Linked DNA regions of Homo sapiens: region 1 is linked to region 2. Evidence: promoter capture Hi-C in 16 types of primary human blood cells and fetal thymus (Javierre and others, 2016). All regions are on one chromosome and are shown on one strand. The core of a region is centred on a gene start or on the middle of the fragment in contact, and the rest is flanking DNA. Distances in the headings are between cores, read along the strand shown.

Region 1 (7,463 bases), core at 1,087-3,586, 250 kb after region 2:
GCATGCACTACCATGCCCAGCTAATTTTTGTATTTGTAATAGAGATGGGGTTTCACCATGTTGGCCAGACTTGGTTCCCTCTTTAGACCACAAGTTCCCATTCTCTTTCCCTAGTGTCCTATGAAATTCTCTTCTCCCGCTTCCGCATCTGTTTTTCTCTATCACAGGTTTCTCAGAATCTTTCTGGCTGCTGTATAGTCAGTCCTGGTATGGTTAGTAACAGCAGGAAGCCTGCCTTTTTGGAAGTACAAGGAGCTAGGAAAGGAGGGGTCTCTCCCAGACTAGAGAGGTCTTCTCCCCTAGCCTCACAGCTAGCTGACTCTGCCTTGTCCTCCCAACACCCGGGATTCCCCCCGGCCCCTCCCAACACCAGGCACCCGGGGCAGCCCCACCTCCTGCCCTGTTTCCTGTCAGGGGTAGGATGGCACCTTGCCTGGGTCTGGGAACAGCACTGGCTCTAGCAGCAGGACCTGCCGGGGCATATCTGAGTGAATAATCATTGCTGGGCTCGAAGCACAGGAGAGACCAGTCCTTCCTTGTCTCCACTGGGCTGTTTAGTGCTTCTTTCCCAAGGACTTCCATCCCTTCCCCAGGCTTTATGGTTCCAGTTCTTCTACCATTCTGGAAGCTCCCTAGAATCTCCTGGAATGCTTAATGGACCTTTCCAGCACCGAAATTCAAGAATTATGACTCATCGGTCAGCAGAAAAGTGAGGATACCTTTTCCTAACCTACCTGCTTCCCCTGCAGTTTCCTCACAATCTTACTCTTTATATTTTAGCATATGTAACTTCTCAGGATGTTAATTCTGTTCTCTCTGTGTTGGTGTCTGAGCACCCAGAAGGTAGAGCCAGGGGCACTTATAAACCAGGAGCATTATTTGACAGGCACTTAAGAAAGACACTGGCTACGTAATCCCAGCACTTTGGGAGGCTGAGGCGGATGGATCACATGAGGTCAGGAGTTCGAGACCAGCCTGGCCAACATGGTGAAACCCTGTCTCTACTAAAAATACAAAAATTAGCTGGGTGTGGTTGCACACGCCTGTAATCCCAGCTACCTGGGAGGCTGAGGCAGGAGAATCGCTTGAACTTGGGAGGCGGAGGTTGCAGTGAGCCTAGATTTTGCCATTGCACTCCAGCCTGGGTGACAAGAGCGAAACTCCATCTCAAAAAAAAAAAAAAAAAAAAAAAAAAAGATGCTGGCTAATATTGATAATAACAGTTTGCATTTGCTAAAGTACTTAAAAAAAAAACCTTTACCCCTCAAAGGGTTTCATCTACATGCAAAACCAACACCGTAGGAACTACTTTCCGCATGCGGAGCCGGGTACAGAGGGAAGGGGCGCGTCCGGGAACTACTTGCCGCATGCGGAGCGGGGTACAGAGGGAAGGGGCGCGTCCGGGAACTACTGGCCCCATGCGGAGCGGGGTACAGGGGGAAGGGTCGCGTCCGGGAACTACTTGCCGCATGCGGAGCGGGGTACAGAGGGAAGGGGCATGTCGTTAGAGGAGCTACTGTTAGTGGAATGAGGACGGGTAGCCAGAGTTCTCATCTGCCAGCTCCAGGCCACTTCCAAGAAATGTGACCCCCAAGCCTCTGGTGCTTGCCTCCTTCTGCTCATTCAGTCGTCCACCTCTTTCATTCTGGATTCCACCATGAGTCCAGGCCTCTCCTGCATTTCTAGATTTCCACGTGCTGATTGTGAGGGACTGACGGGGGTTTCACCTTCTCTCCTTTTCCTGGCCCCACAGCCTTGGCTCACGCTTCCTAGGCTCTGAGTTTCAGTTCGTGTCCCAGCCTCCCAACCGGACAGCGTTCTGGAAACAGTTTATGCATGAACTCTTGCATTTTCTCTTGGGAAATAATCAAACCCTTTGTTTCTAATCTCCTCTCAGTCTGTACTACTACTACTACACTAACATGACTTTGGTTTTGGGGAAAGGAAAGGAAAATGTCTGTTGATGCTGGGCCCCAGGCAGCACCGTGAGAGCTGCAACGGGCTCACATTTGCCCCTAGTTTTTCCTCCAGGTAGGAGCTGTGGGAGGAGTCCAGGGAGTCCCTTGAGGCTGAGCAGAGCAAAGAAGCAAGGGCTCAAGGCTGGTGTGTGCCTGGTTCTCCCCTGGTCAGTTCTAGGGAGCAGAGACCGTGGTGCAGGTGGAAGGACCACGGCGCTGTGTCCCTTAACTGTACAGCACCAGTGCGCGCCACGTGCTGGGGAGATGCCGAAGCCTTAGGGAGCAACTTCGGGAAGCTTTTGAAGCTGGGGAAACTAATACACTTGAAATAGTTAAAGGGGGATTTAAGGCAGAGGAGCAGAGTCTGAGGGGACAGCTCGTGCCCTCCCCTTGCCTGCCTCAGGCCACCAGCTTTGTGCCTCTTCTCTCCCTCCAGCCCTTGTTCCTCAGCTTCTTCTGAAAAGCTTTCCTTGAGCAAACCCAGCTCCGCCTTGCTCTGTCTGGCGTTGAATCATTAAATCAGCGACGATTTGGTGACCTCGTATATACTCAGAACATACCTGGAGCTGTGAGGGGAACAGGAGCAAACCACAGGCAGCTCCCTAGTGAGGCGAGTGCAGTGTCACCAGGACGTGCTGCTTGGGGCCAGCCTGGTGTGGCCAGTGCCTTGCATTGTATGCGGAGCTGCGAGAGACGAGACATCTACCAAGAGTTTCTGCGTTAACATCACTGTTGGCTCTTCATAGCTGAGCAAAGCAATATGTACAATTATACATCGTAAACAACGCAGGGCACAGTGCCAGGCGACATCTATTTCGACCCACATGAGGCGCTCTGTCTGTTATTCCAGAGCCCCACCTTTCAATAATTGAGTCCAACACTTGTATGGTATCTTCTTGAGCCTCTCCATCAACCAAAGGTTTTTATTTATTTATTTTTTTGAGTTGGAGTCTCACTCTGTTGCCCAAGGTGGATTGCAGTGGCACGATCTCAGTTTACTGTAACCTCCGCCTCCTGGGTTCAAGCGATTCTCCTGCCCCAGCCTCCCTAGTAGCTGAGATTACAGGCACGTGCCACCACACCCAGATACTTTCTGTATTTTTAGTAGAGACAGAGTTTCACCATGTTGGCCAGGCTGGTCTTGAACTCCTGACCTCAGGTAATCCACTCGCCTCAGCCTCCCAAGGTGCTGGGATTACAGGGTGAGCCACCATGCCCGGCCCAACCAAAGATTTTACACAATTTTATTATATGTAAAATGTGAGGAGATAAGACATGCTTAGTAATAGAAGCTCTAGTGAGTGAGAGAAAGCAGCCGCAGACTGTTACCCCACATGCTCACTATGCGACAATAGTCGTTTTGTGTATGTTATAGATTCAGAGCTGCACAGATAAAGTACTGCTGTTTTCATTCGGGCACCCATCTCAGTGTGAGGCCGCCTAATTCTCATTCCATGTATACCCAAGTACCACCTAGAAATGGCTCCTGCCCTTAATGAGCTTCTGTTCTACTTGTGGAGATGAGGCTTGGTCCTGTGAAAGGTTAAATAGAGATGTTGTGGTCTGGCTTGTTGGGTTGGAAGGAATCTGCTCTAGCTAAGTCAAATAAAGGGAGAGATGCAGCAGAGACTCGAGCCGGCTACATGCATTCAAACCCTGGCTCTGCCACTGAAATAGCTGTTTGACCTTGGCAAGTTATTTACCTTCCCTGAGCCTGTTTCCTCCTCTGTAAAGTGAGAATAATAATAATATCTACCTCATGGAGTTAGGTGAGGATTAAATTAGTTGGTGTGTGGGCCAGGCACGGTGGCTCACGCCTGTAATCCCAGCACTTTGGGAGGCCGAGACGGGTGGATCACCTGAGGTCAGGAGTTCAAGACCAGCCAGGCCAACATGGCGAAACCCCGTCTCTACTAAAAATACAAAAACTAGCCTGGCGTGGTGGCGGGCACCTGTAATCCTAGCTACTGGGAGGCTGAGGCAGGAGAACTGCTTGAATCCAGGAAGTGGAGGTTGCAGTGAGCCAAGATTGCGCCACTGCACTCCAGCCTGGGTGACAGAGTGAGAATCCATCTCAAAAAAAAAAAAAGAAAAATTAGTTGGTGTGTGTAAAACACTTAGCACAGTGCCAGGCTGTCAATATTATTTTTTATTTAAAGTCAAGACCCTTCTTGGAAGGGCGTGTGGCTCATGCCTGTAATTCTAGCACTTTGTGTGTCCGAGGCAGCAGGATTGCTTGAGCCCAGGAGTTCAATACCAGCCTGGGCAACACAGTGAGATCCCATCTCTACAAAAAAGGTTTTAAAAAGTAGCTGGGCATGATGGTGCATGCCCGTGGTTCCAGCTACTCAGGAAGCTGAGGTGGGAGGACTGCTTGAACCCAAGAGGTTGAAGCTGCAGTGGGCTGCAATTGCACCACTGCACTCCAGCCTGGGCAACATTGCAAGACCCTGCCTCACAAAACAAAAACCAAAAAAAATCCTTCTCACTTCACATGCCAAGGGAAAAGAAAAGAGAAAAGAAAAAGAATCTTGTTCGAACCTAGGCACCTGAATGGCAGCCCAGACAGTTCCTTGGAACTGAAACCATAGGGTGGTTCTGGGTTAATGGTAACAGCGGGGGATAGCTAGAGTCAGTTGGTCACTCTCCCGCTTCTGTCTCCCCCTGTAGTTCCCATGCCCTCTCCTTCCATGTCTGCTGTGCTCTCTGTGTACAGTGTGGCCACTCTGCCCACTCATGGCCTCTGCTTTCCTTTACCTGAGATAATAATGGGCTCTCCAGCCTTGACTCTCCATGCACTCTTTGGCATCTTCCCTTTTATTTGAAATGGCTGAAGGGGAAGTTTGCCTTAGGTTACCTTTTTTCCTTCAATCTTGGACTGGCTCCCTGGGGTCAGGAACTCATGTCTTAAACTGTTGCTGGGGCTAGAAAGGGGAGGAAATGGTGGAAAACCCGGTCCTTTAGGCAACAGGAGCTATGAGCCAGGCAAAGCACACTGCAGGCCTTGAGGTCAGATTTTTCAGTCAAATCTTGGCTCTACCACTTCCTAGCCTGGGCAAGTGTTTAATTGTTGTAAACTTTTTCACCTGTGAAATGAGTATAACAATAGTACCCACTTCAAAGTTTGTCATGTGAGATTATACTTCTAAAGTGCTCGGCAGTACCAGGAACAAATGAAATGCTCAAAAATTGCTAGCTGTCTCATTATTATTATTATTATTATTATTTTTGAGACGGAGTCTCACTCTGTCACCCAGGCTGGAGTGCGGTGGCGCAATCTCGGCTCACTGCAACCTTCGCCTCCCGGGTTCAAGAGATTCTCCTGCCTCAGCCTCCCAAGTAGCTGGATTACACGTGTGTGCCACCACGCCCAGCTAATTTTTGTATTTTTAGTAGAGACGGGGTTTCACCATGTTGGTCAGGCTGCTCTCAAACTTCTGACCTCAAATGATCCGCCTGCCTCGGCCTCCCAAAGTGCTGGGATTATAGGAGTGAGCCACCTTGCCCGGCCTAGCTGTGTCATTATTAAAGGGCTATGGGGGCCAGGTGCAGTGGCTCATGCCTGTAATCCCGGCACTTTGGGAGGCTGAGGTGGGTGGATCACCTGAGGTCGGGTGTTCGAGACCAGCCTGACCGACATGGAGAAACCCCGTCTCTACTAAAAATACAAAATTAGCCAGGCGTGGTGGCGCATGCCTGTAATCCCAGCTACTCGGGAGGCTGAGGCAGGAGAATCGCTTGAACCTGGGAGGCGGAGGTTGCAGTGAGCCGAAATCACACCCTTGCACTCCAGCCTGGGCAACAAGAGCAAAACTCTGTCTCAAAAAGAATAAATAATTAATTAATTAAATAAAGGGCTATGGGGGCCGGGCCTGGTGGCTCATGCCTGTAATCCCAGTACTTTGGGAGGCCGAGGTGGAGTGGATCACCTGAGGTTAGGAGTTCGAGACCAGCCTGGCCAACATGGTGAAACCCCATCTCTACTAAAAATACAAAAATTAGCCGGGCATGGTGGTGGGTGCCTGTAATCCCAGCTACTGGGGAGGCTGAGGCAGGAGAATCGCTTGAACCCGGGAGATAGATGTTGCAGTGAGCCGAGATCGCACCATTGAACTCCAGCCTAGGCGACAAGAGTGAGACTCCATCTCAAAAAAAAGAGCTATGGGGAGAGTGGACAATGACAGTGATCTCTGAGATGGCCGATATGGGCAAGCTCCTAAAGTGGTAAAGATCAGGACCGGAAGGATGGGGCAGATTACAGCACTCATTGTTTAGAGGAGGGTACTGGAAAGCCGGTTAGACCACCGCAGCTTGAATATGTCTTCTTCAAAAGAACCTTTTCCTGGCTCCCCAGCCTCGGTCAGGTGTGCTCTCTTGGCACCCTGCACTTCACAGCACATAAGACAGACCAGAGCTCTTTCCACGACCAAAACCTTCCTTCCTCCTTTTTGGTCCAAGAGACACACTTGGCAGCAGCAGGAGGAGTGTCACTCCATACGTTTTTATTTTTATCTTTACTTTTTTATCTTTTCTGTTTTACATGAGATGTGTATTTAAATAACCAGACACTGGGCCGGGCGCGGTGGCTCACGCCTGTAATCCCAGCACTTTGGGAGGCCGAGGCGGGCAGATCACCTGAGGTCAGGAGTTCGAGACCAGCCTGACTAACATGGTGAACCTCCGTCTCTACTAAAAACACACAAAAAATTAGCCGGGTGTAGTGGTGGGCGCCTGTAATCCCAGCTACTTGGGAGGCTGAGGCAGGAGAATCCCTTGAACCCGGGAGGTGGAGGTTGCAGTGAGCCGAGATCGCGCCATTGCACTCCAGCCTGGGCAACAGGGTGAGACACTGTCTCAAAAAATAAATAAATAAATAAATAAATAACCAGACACTGGACTAGAGGGGGAAAGTTTCAAGGATTTTTTTTTCTTCCCCTTTTTCTCATAAGGACAAATGTGCCTATGTGGAACAGCTACATAGAATAAAATGATGAAATTGTGATCTATGAAAAAAACATTAAAATAGGCTAGGCATGGTAGCTCACACCTGTAATCTCAGCACTTTGGAAGACAGGCAGGAGGATCGCTTGAGCCCAGAAGTTCGAGACCAGCCTGATCAACACAGGGAGACCCGTCTCTACCAAAAAAAAAAAAAAAAAAAAGCCAGTATCCAGGCAGAGTGGTGTGTGTGCTTGTAGTCCCAGTTACCTGGTAGGCTAGGGCAGGAGGATCACTTGAGTCCAGGAGTTCGAGGCTACAGTGAGCTATGATTGTGCCACTGCACTCCAGCCTAGGTGACAGAGTGAGAACCTGTCTCAAAAAAGAAACGATACATGGGTTTGTGTCATCTGAGATGCAACGAAAGAAAGAAAGAAAACAAAGACATACCACAGCTGTAATTACACAATTAATTGTAGAGGTTATTAATGTGTGCCTCTCTCCTCAGAACATAAACACCAGTAAGGTAGGGACTGCTTCAGTTACTCACTGTTCTATTCCCCAGCC
Region 2 (6,722 bases), core at 3,763-6,262:
AGGCATGAGCCACTGTGCCCGGCCTCATCTTTAACATTTATTAGCTCTTTCAATGTGCCCTTTGCTGTTCCACCTGATTTGCATGGGTTTATAATTTTCATACCACTCTTTCGAGGTGGATATAATTCACAGATGGAGAAACTGAAGCCCGGAGAAATGAAGTGTGTTGCCCACAGATATATAGCTCGGAAGAGATGGAGCTGGGATTTCAACCCTGACAGCCATGCGCTTATTGATGGGAAAAAAAATAGACTGGAGACCCCTGGAACTACAAAAGTACACACAGCTGCTGAAGGAAGGGCACTGACAATCGGGCCAAGTGCGATCGTTTTTGCCTTTTTGGTTCTGCCTGATAATGTCAGGCCGGCTCCATCTGGTGCCCAGGGGACCCAGGCATACTGTAAGCAGAGTCAGAGGAGGCAGGGGGCGCAGGGCTGGGCATTCCAGAGGCTGTCTGTTGTTATTTCAGGACTCGCTGCTGAGATGAGCAGGGCGATGCGTCTTGACTGTTGACGTTCCTCCTCCCACGTCCACGAGGCCTTCAGCCTCCCTCTGAGCCCCAGTGAAAGGCCACAGTGTACACACGAGTCTAAACCAGTGAGCCAAAAGTGAAACCAGTATTTCCCAGGGCAGGAGGCAGAGGGCCCTGGGGGGCTGGGGGTGGGGCAGCAATGAGTTTAAGCAATCTCTTTTTTTTTTTGAGACGGAGTCTTTCTTGCTCTGCCCCCAGGCTGGAGTGCAATCGCACGATCTCGGCTCACTGCAACCTCTGCCTCCTGGGTTCAAGCAATTCTCCTGCCTCAGCCTCCCGAGTAGCTGGGACTACAGGCACACGCCACCACGCCCGGCTAATTTTTGTATTTTTAGTAGAGACAAGGTTTCACCATATTGGTCAGGCTGGTCTCGAACTCCTGACCTCAGGTGACCCGCCTGCCTCGGCCTCCCAAAGTGCTGGGATTACAGGTGTGAGCCACCACATCCAGCCTACTTTTTTTTTTTTTAACTTAAATATAGTTTCACTTCAAATTTAAATACAATATGCCAGGTACTGTGGGTCGCCTGTGCCTGTAATCACAGCTACTCAGGAGGCTGAGGTGGGAAGATCGCTTGAGGCAGGCGTTCAAGACCAGTCTGGGTAACATAGTGAGACCCCATCTCTACAAAACTATTTTTAAAAAACTAGCTGGGCCGGGCGTGGTGTCTCACGCCTGTAATCACAGCACTTTGGGAGGCCAAGGCAGGTGGATCACCTGAGGTCAGGAGATCGAGACCAGCCTGGCCAACATGGTGAAACCTTGTCTCTACTAAAAATACAAAAAAAAAATTAGCCAGGCGTGGTGGCAGACACCTGTAATCCCAGCTACTCGGGAGGCTGAGACAGGAGAATCACTCGAACCCGGGAGGCAGAGGTTGCAGTGAGCCAAGATTGTGCCACTGCGCTCCAGCCTGGGCAACAAGAGCAAAACTCTGTCTCAAAAACAAAACAAAAAAACAAACAACTAGCTGGGCATGGTGGTGTGTGCCTGGAATCACAGCTACTTGGGAAGACAAGGCGTGAGGATCACTTGGGCCTAGGAGATCGAGGCTGCAATAAGCTAGGATCGTGCCTCTGTACTCATGCCTGGGCAACAGAGCAAGCCCCTGTCTCTAAAAAAAAAACCCAAATTAAATAAAGTAAGTCTGTTTAAATGAAAACATGAATTGTACAGGTGGCTCATAAATCTGGGAGTTTGGGAAACATTGTATTGGAGTCAGTGACTCCAAGGGTTCTGCCAGGGTTATCTGAATTCCCCGCTGGTGGGTCCTTGGGAACCTCTGGCTGCCGGCTGAGCTCTGTTCCCGGGACCGAGACACCGGCCCTGTCGCGGCTGTGGGGCTGGCTGATGGCTGGGACCACCGTTCTGACGGGGCTTGTGTGTTTCAGGAATCTGGCCAACTGTGAGCGCCTCATCGAAGTGGAGGACATGATGGTGATGGGCCGCAAGCCGGACCCCATGTGTGTCTTCACCTACGTCCAGTCGCTGTACAACCACCTGCGTCGCTTCGAGTAAAGCCCCTGAGCCTGGATTGCCAAAGAGCAGCCCCAGGAAGAGGCCGGGGGTCCGCTTGCGATTCCCCAGCCAGGATGCCCCCAGGAGCCTTGCCGTTTGGTGTGAGCGCGCTGTTTGTTCTGTGGCATGTGACGGCACTCCCCTTCGAGCCCAGCTGTGTTACTGATTAAAAGTACTGCTGAGCTGTGGTCCGACAGCACTGATCACAGCCAAGGGCTTGGAGGAAAAGGAAAAATTATGAGAGAGAGAGAGACATTGGTGCTAAGTAATGATCTTCCTAAAGAAATGCTTGTGTTTATAGCTTCCAGAATGCTAATCTACAATTTTCCCTCTGGTGAATTCGATACATCGGCTTTACAGGGTTACAGTGATTACCAAGTGTTTTTTTTTATCAAAATACCCAGAGTTTTTTACTTCCTCACGCGATTGTAGGTTCCTCTCCTCCCTCCCTCTGGGCCACTGCCAGGAAACAGAGAGACCGCTTAATCAGCAGCTTGACAAAGAAGACCTCAAGTCTTGGGAAGAAACAGTTTAATCACTCCCAAGTCCTGGGCAACAGATGACCTTCAAGTCACCTCCGCTCTCCGGGGAGATGGGAAGGCTCTCCTCTCGGTCCCAAAGTCCTCCTGTTCTTCCCAGGAGGCCCCACAAGTGTTTGGCTAAGCACAGGCTCTCGGGAATTTAACACTTTTGGGGAAGGAATAGGCCCTTTGTGCTGAGAGAGAGTTTTTATTCACATCTTTTTTAGGGGATTTGCTGCAGATATTTATAAAAAGTAACTCCCTCTGTACCACTGACCCATTTATACATAAAAAAGATGTGTTGAATTTTGCTTGGGGTTTGTCATTTCTGTTTAGGAGATGGGAGTTCTGTGAATAAGAGACTTTGCACACCTTCCAAGTGAATATCCACTACATTCCACCCCTGTTCCTGCACTTAAATCACTGGCCTGGAAAGCTGAAGATGGCATTTGCTGTCATCTCTGATCATCTCTGAGTGTGCCTGTCTCCCATCTCCATGTTGTGGAAGGAGCGTCAACAGAAAGTTCCCCTTGAGATCCGTCCTCTGGATGTAGACCGCAGTGTTTGTGATAAACAGTGGCCCAAGACAGCAGGGTTTGGGGTGGTCCCGCACTTGGAGGAAGCCCATCAAGGAACGTTGGTTTATTTTCACAGCTGTTTGGTGGTAGGACTTTCATAGAAAAATCTTGAGATTCTATAGAGCTCCAGCCATTAGCTTATTCTCAGCCAAGAATCATTGTATAATTGGGTTGGATTTTAGCCATGCACTTCTAAACCTTCCCTTTAAGGAGCGGATCTGTGTCTTCACCTCATGCAGCCGGCTCTCAACACCAGTGCCTGTGTGCCTTTGTGGGGTCCCACGTGTCCCTTGGGTGGTATATTGGGGGGTGGGCAGGAGATCCCTGGGGGTGTCAGGAGGAACATGGCAGAGCCTGCAGGTGGGTGAGCAGTATTCTCCATGGATTGGTTGGTCCAGGCTGCAGTCTTGCCCTCTCTCTCGGATTCTCCCACTCTGGAAACCATTCCCTTGCTAGCTCTCTCGTCTCTTGTACGCTTGGGGAGGTGAGACCTATTATTAACAGGACACATAACTGAAGGTTAGGGTTTCAAACCTGAAGCCAATCTGGGAACACAAGGGCTCTGTAAAAAGCATGGCTATATGTTACTGAGTCCTCGCACACGTTAAATGGAGCTCTCCCGAGTTGCAGACATGGCCGTACGCTCTGCGCATGAAACAGAGCAGATCCTGCCAGAATGCAGAACAATTTCTTTTAAACTTTAGGAATGGTGTCCCTCATGTCTCACATTCAGAATGAGACAGACTCGAGTTTTTAAAGTTGGTTCCATGATGTTCTTGTCTGTGGTCTTTGTTGGGGGTGGGGGGTGAGAGATCATAAGACAGTTTGTGAGTTTCAAACATGATTTTACCTCTAAGACAAAGCATGAGAAGAAAATCCAGGAAGGTCTCACAATCCTAAGATATTTGGAAACCACCGTTTTAGGTCGGGGTTACGTGAATGTTCCCCATTTGTGAGACCCAATTTCATCTTGCTTTCTACCCTGGTATGGAGGAATTCACATCTTTTTTCCCCTTTCCCGAGAGAATTATTTCTTGGAGCTGCTCATAAGAGTCTTCTGTTTTTCCAGATAGATTCCTTCACCTGGATTTTGTTAAACTTATTAAGTCGGACCAAATTGGCTTGTGTGTTTCCCTGAAGTGAACGTTTCACCAGAGCCACGATGGGTTTTAGCTTTTCTGATAGCTGATGGATATTTTTCAAGGCAAGCGAGAGCCTATAAGCACTTTCTGAATATGACAGAGCACATGCTGGTGAGAGGAGACCGCACAGGCCAGGTGTTTGGGGAACAGTTTGTTAAAGCCAATGAATTTCGCAAATGTGCTAGATGATGAAGAGTTCTCAGCTTTCCCGGTTGCAGTGATCAGAACTCTGTAACTGGAGACCGGTGTGAGAGAAGATTTTATTCTCTGCCATCATGACCGGGTCTATACGACTGCAGGCAATTGCACAGAAGACTAGAAATGCTGATTCAGTTGGTCAGTTTGGGGTGGGACATCTTACCAGTCCAGCAGAACCAACTCTGGCTTGGGTTTTTCTAGCTGGTGACAGGTGACCAACTCATTCTGATGAGTTGATTACGCCTGTGGACGTGGCCCACTTGATTTATTTTTTCTCCCTCTGTTAGCTGTGCTCTCCCAACCACCTGATAAATGGACCCAGTATGATTATTTCTGAGCCATCTTATCTCTCTCACTTTTAAAGCTTGGATTGGGTTTGCTTTTAGAGCTTTTGATCTCTTATCTCTTGGTTCTTGGACTTGCTTTGATACCAAACAGCCCTCATAGTCTTTTGAAAGAACACCTTAAAAATTCCTAGGCTGGGCGCGGTGGCTCATGCCTGTAGTCCTAGCACTTTGGGAGGCCGAGACAGGACAAATATTTGAGCTCTGGAGTTTGAGACCAGCCTGGGCAACAGAGTGAGACTCTGTCTCTACAGAAAGTTTTAAAATTAGCCAGGTGTAGTGACACATGCTTGTAGTCCCCATTACTTGGAAGGCCAAGGCGGGAGGATGGCTTGAGCCTGGGAGGTCAAGGCATCAGTGAGCGATGGTTGTGCCACTGCCTGGAGATAGAGTGAGACCCTGTCTCAAAAAAGAAAGAAAGAAAGAAAGAAAAATCCCTAAGACCTGACCTGCCTACTCCCTAGAAAGCACCAAATAAGGAAAAGCACTCCGGAAGAATGAAGCTAAGAAGGCTGTGCTCTCTGAGGCATCCGGGCAGCCTTCACTGGAGGGACAAGGTCCAGGTAGGTGGGATGACAAGCTGGGAAGGGGCCCTGAACCAGAGGCAGGTGATGTGGGTGGTGGCACCAGAGAGACACCAGACAGTGTTACCGTAGGTCTTGACTGTCCACCTTCATTCCTGAAGTTGATCCAGCTTTCTTACTGTCACGTAGGTGGATATAAAATCGATCTTTAGGGTTCTGATTTTTTGTTTGTTTTTGTTTTTTTTGAGACGGAGTCTCACTCTGTCACCCAGGCTGGAGTGCAGTGGCACAATCTTGGCTCACTGCAACCTCCACCTCCCAGGTTCAAGCGATTCTCGTGCCTCAGCCTCCTGTGTAGCTGGATGTACAGGCGCCCGCCACCATGCCAGGCTAATTTTTGTATTTTTAGTACAGACGGGGTTTCACCATGTTGGTCAGGCTGGTCTCGAACTCCTGACCTCAAGTGATCCGCCTGCCTTGGCCTCCCAAAGTGCTGGGATTACAGGCATGAGCCACTGCGCCCGGCCGGGGATCTGAGTTTTAATCACTCCCAGTGCAAGCGTCCTTATCTGGTTTGCAGACTGAGTGGCATTTGTGCTGCCGAGGCTCTTCCTGGCTTGCCCTCCTCTCTGGCTGTTGCTTTCCCTCCTCTGTTCATTAGAGCCTCCTCTCCTCGGCTTGTTGCTCCTATGTGCTGTGACCTAAGCTCTATGCTCCTTCTTCTACATTAGGGTTCATAGCCCAGGACTTTGGGGAGTCTGTGGATGTCCAAATTGAGTGTTTTACCTCAATTTGGTTGAGGTTGCAGTGAGCCGAGATTGAGCCATTGCACTCCAGCCTGGGCAACAAGAGTGAAACTCTGTCTCAAAAAATTGTATTTCTGGCCGGGCGCGGTGGCTCACGCCTGTAATCCCAGCACTTTGGGAGGCCGAGGCAGACGAATCACGAGGTCAGGGGATCGAGACCATCCTGGCTAGTACGGTGAAACCCCCGTCTCTACTAAAAATACAAAAAATTAGCTGGGCGTGGTGGCGGGCGCCTGTAGTCCCAGCTACTCAGGAGGCTGAGGCAGGAGAATGGCGTGAACCCGGGAGGAGCTTGCAGTGAGCGGAGATCGTGCCACTGCACTCCAGCCTGGGCGACAGAGCGAGACTCCATCTCAAAAAAAAAAAAAACATATATTTCTTTGATGTTTACTGGCTGGCATTCTTCTGTAAAGAAAGTCTTTCCCTCCCTCCAACTCAGTTTTTGAGTGTTCCTGGAGGCCCATGGATTTTTTTTTTTAATTCAATGTGTTGTAATCGCTTACTGTTATAATTTTTTTTGATGCTCAAACTGTTCAGAGGGAGAAGACAGCTCTTGTG

What was found. The method cuts DNA at HindIII sites, captures the fragments that hold promoters and counts their contacts. A CHiCAGO score of 5 or more calls a contact.
Region 1: a contact is called between a fragment that was not itself captured here and the fragment with the promoter of LINC01996 in region 2, in 1 of 17 cell types (erythroblasts). The highest score is 5.3, in erythroblasts.

The regions. Positions count from the first base shown.
Region 1 is chr17:4,858,620-4,866,082 of GRCh38, forward strand. All of the region lies in intron 1 of MINK1 (misshapen like kinase 1), which reads left to right. Among named protein-coding and RNA genes, the nearest start is that of MINK1, 29 kb to the left of the region's middle. RefSeq lists a silencer at 1,235-1,529. The HindIII fragment of the contact is 168 bases long and covers 2,253-2,420 here.
Region 2 is chr17:4,605,437-4,612,158 of GRCh38, forward strand. LINC01996 (long intergenic non-protein coding RNA 1996) reads left to right here and starts at 5,013. Exons shown (of 2, transcript NR_145431.1): 1 at 5,013-5,397. It overlaps SMTNL2 (smoothelin like 2), which reads left to right. Exons shown (of 8, transcript NM_001114974.2): 8 at 1,925-2,883. The coding sequence ends at 2,051. The HindIII fragment of the contact is 12,447 bases long and covers 4,853-6,722 here.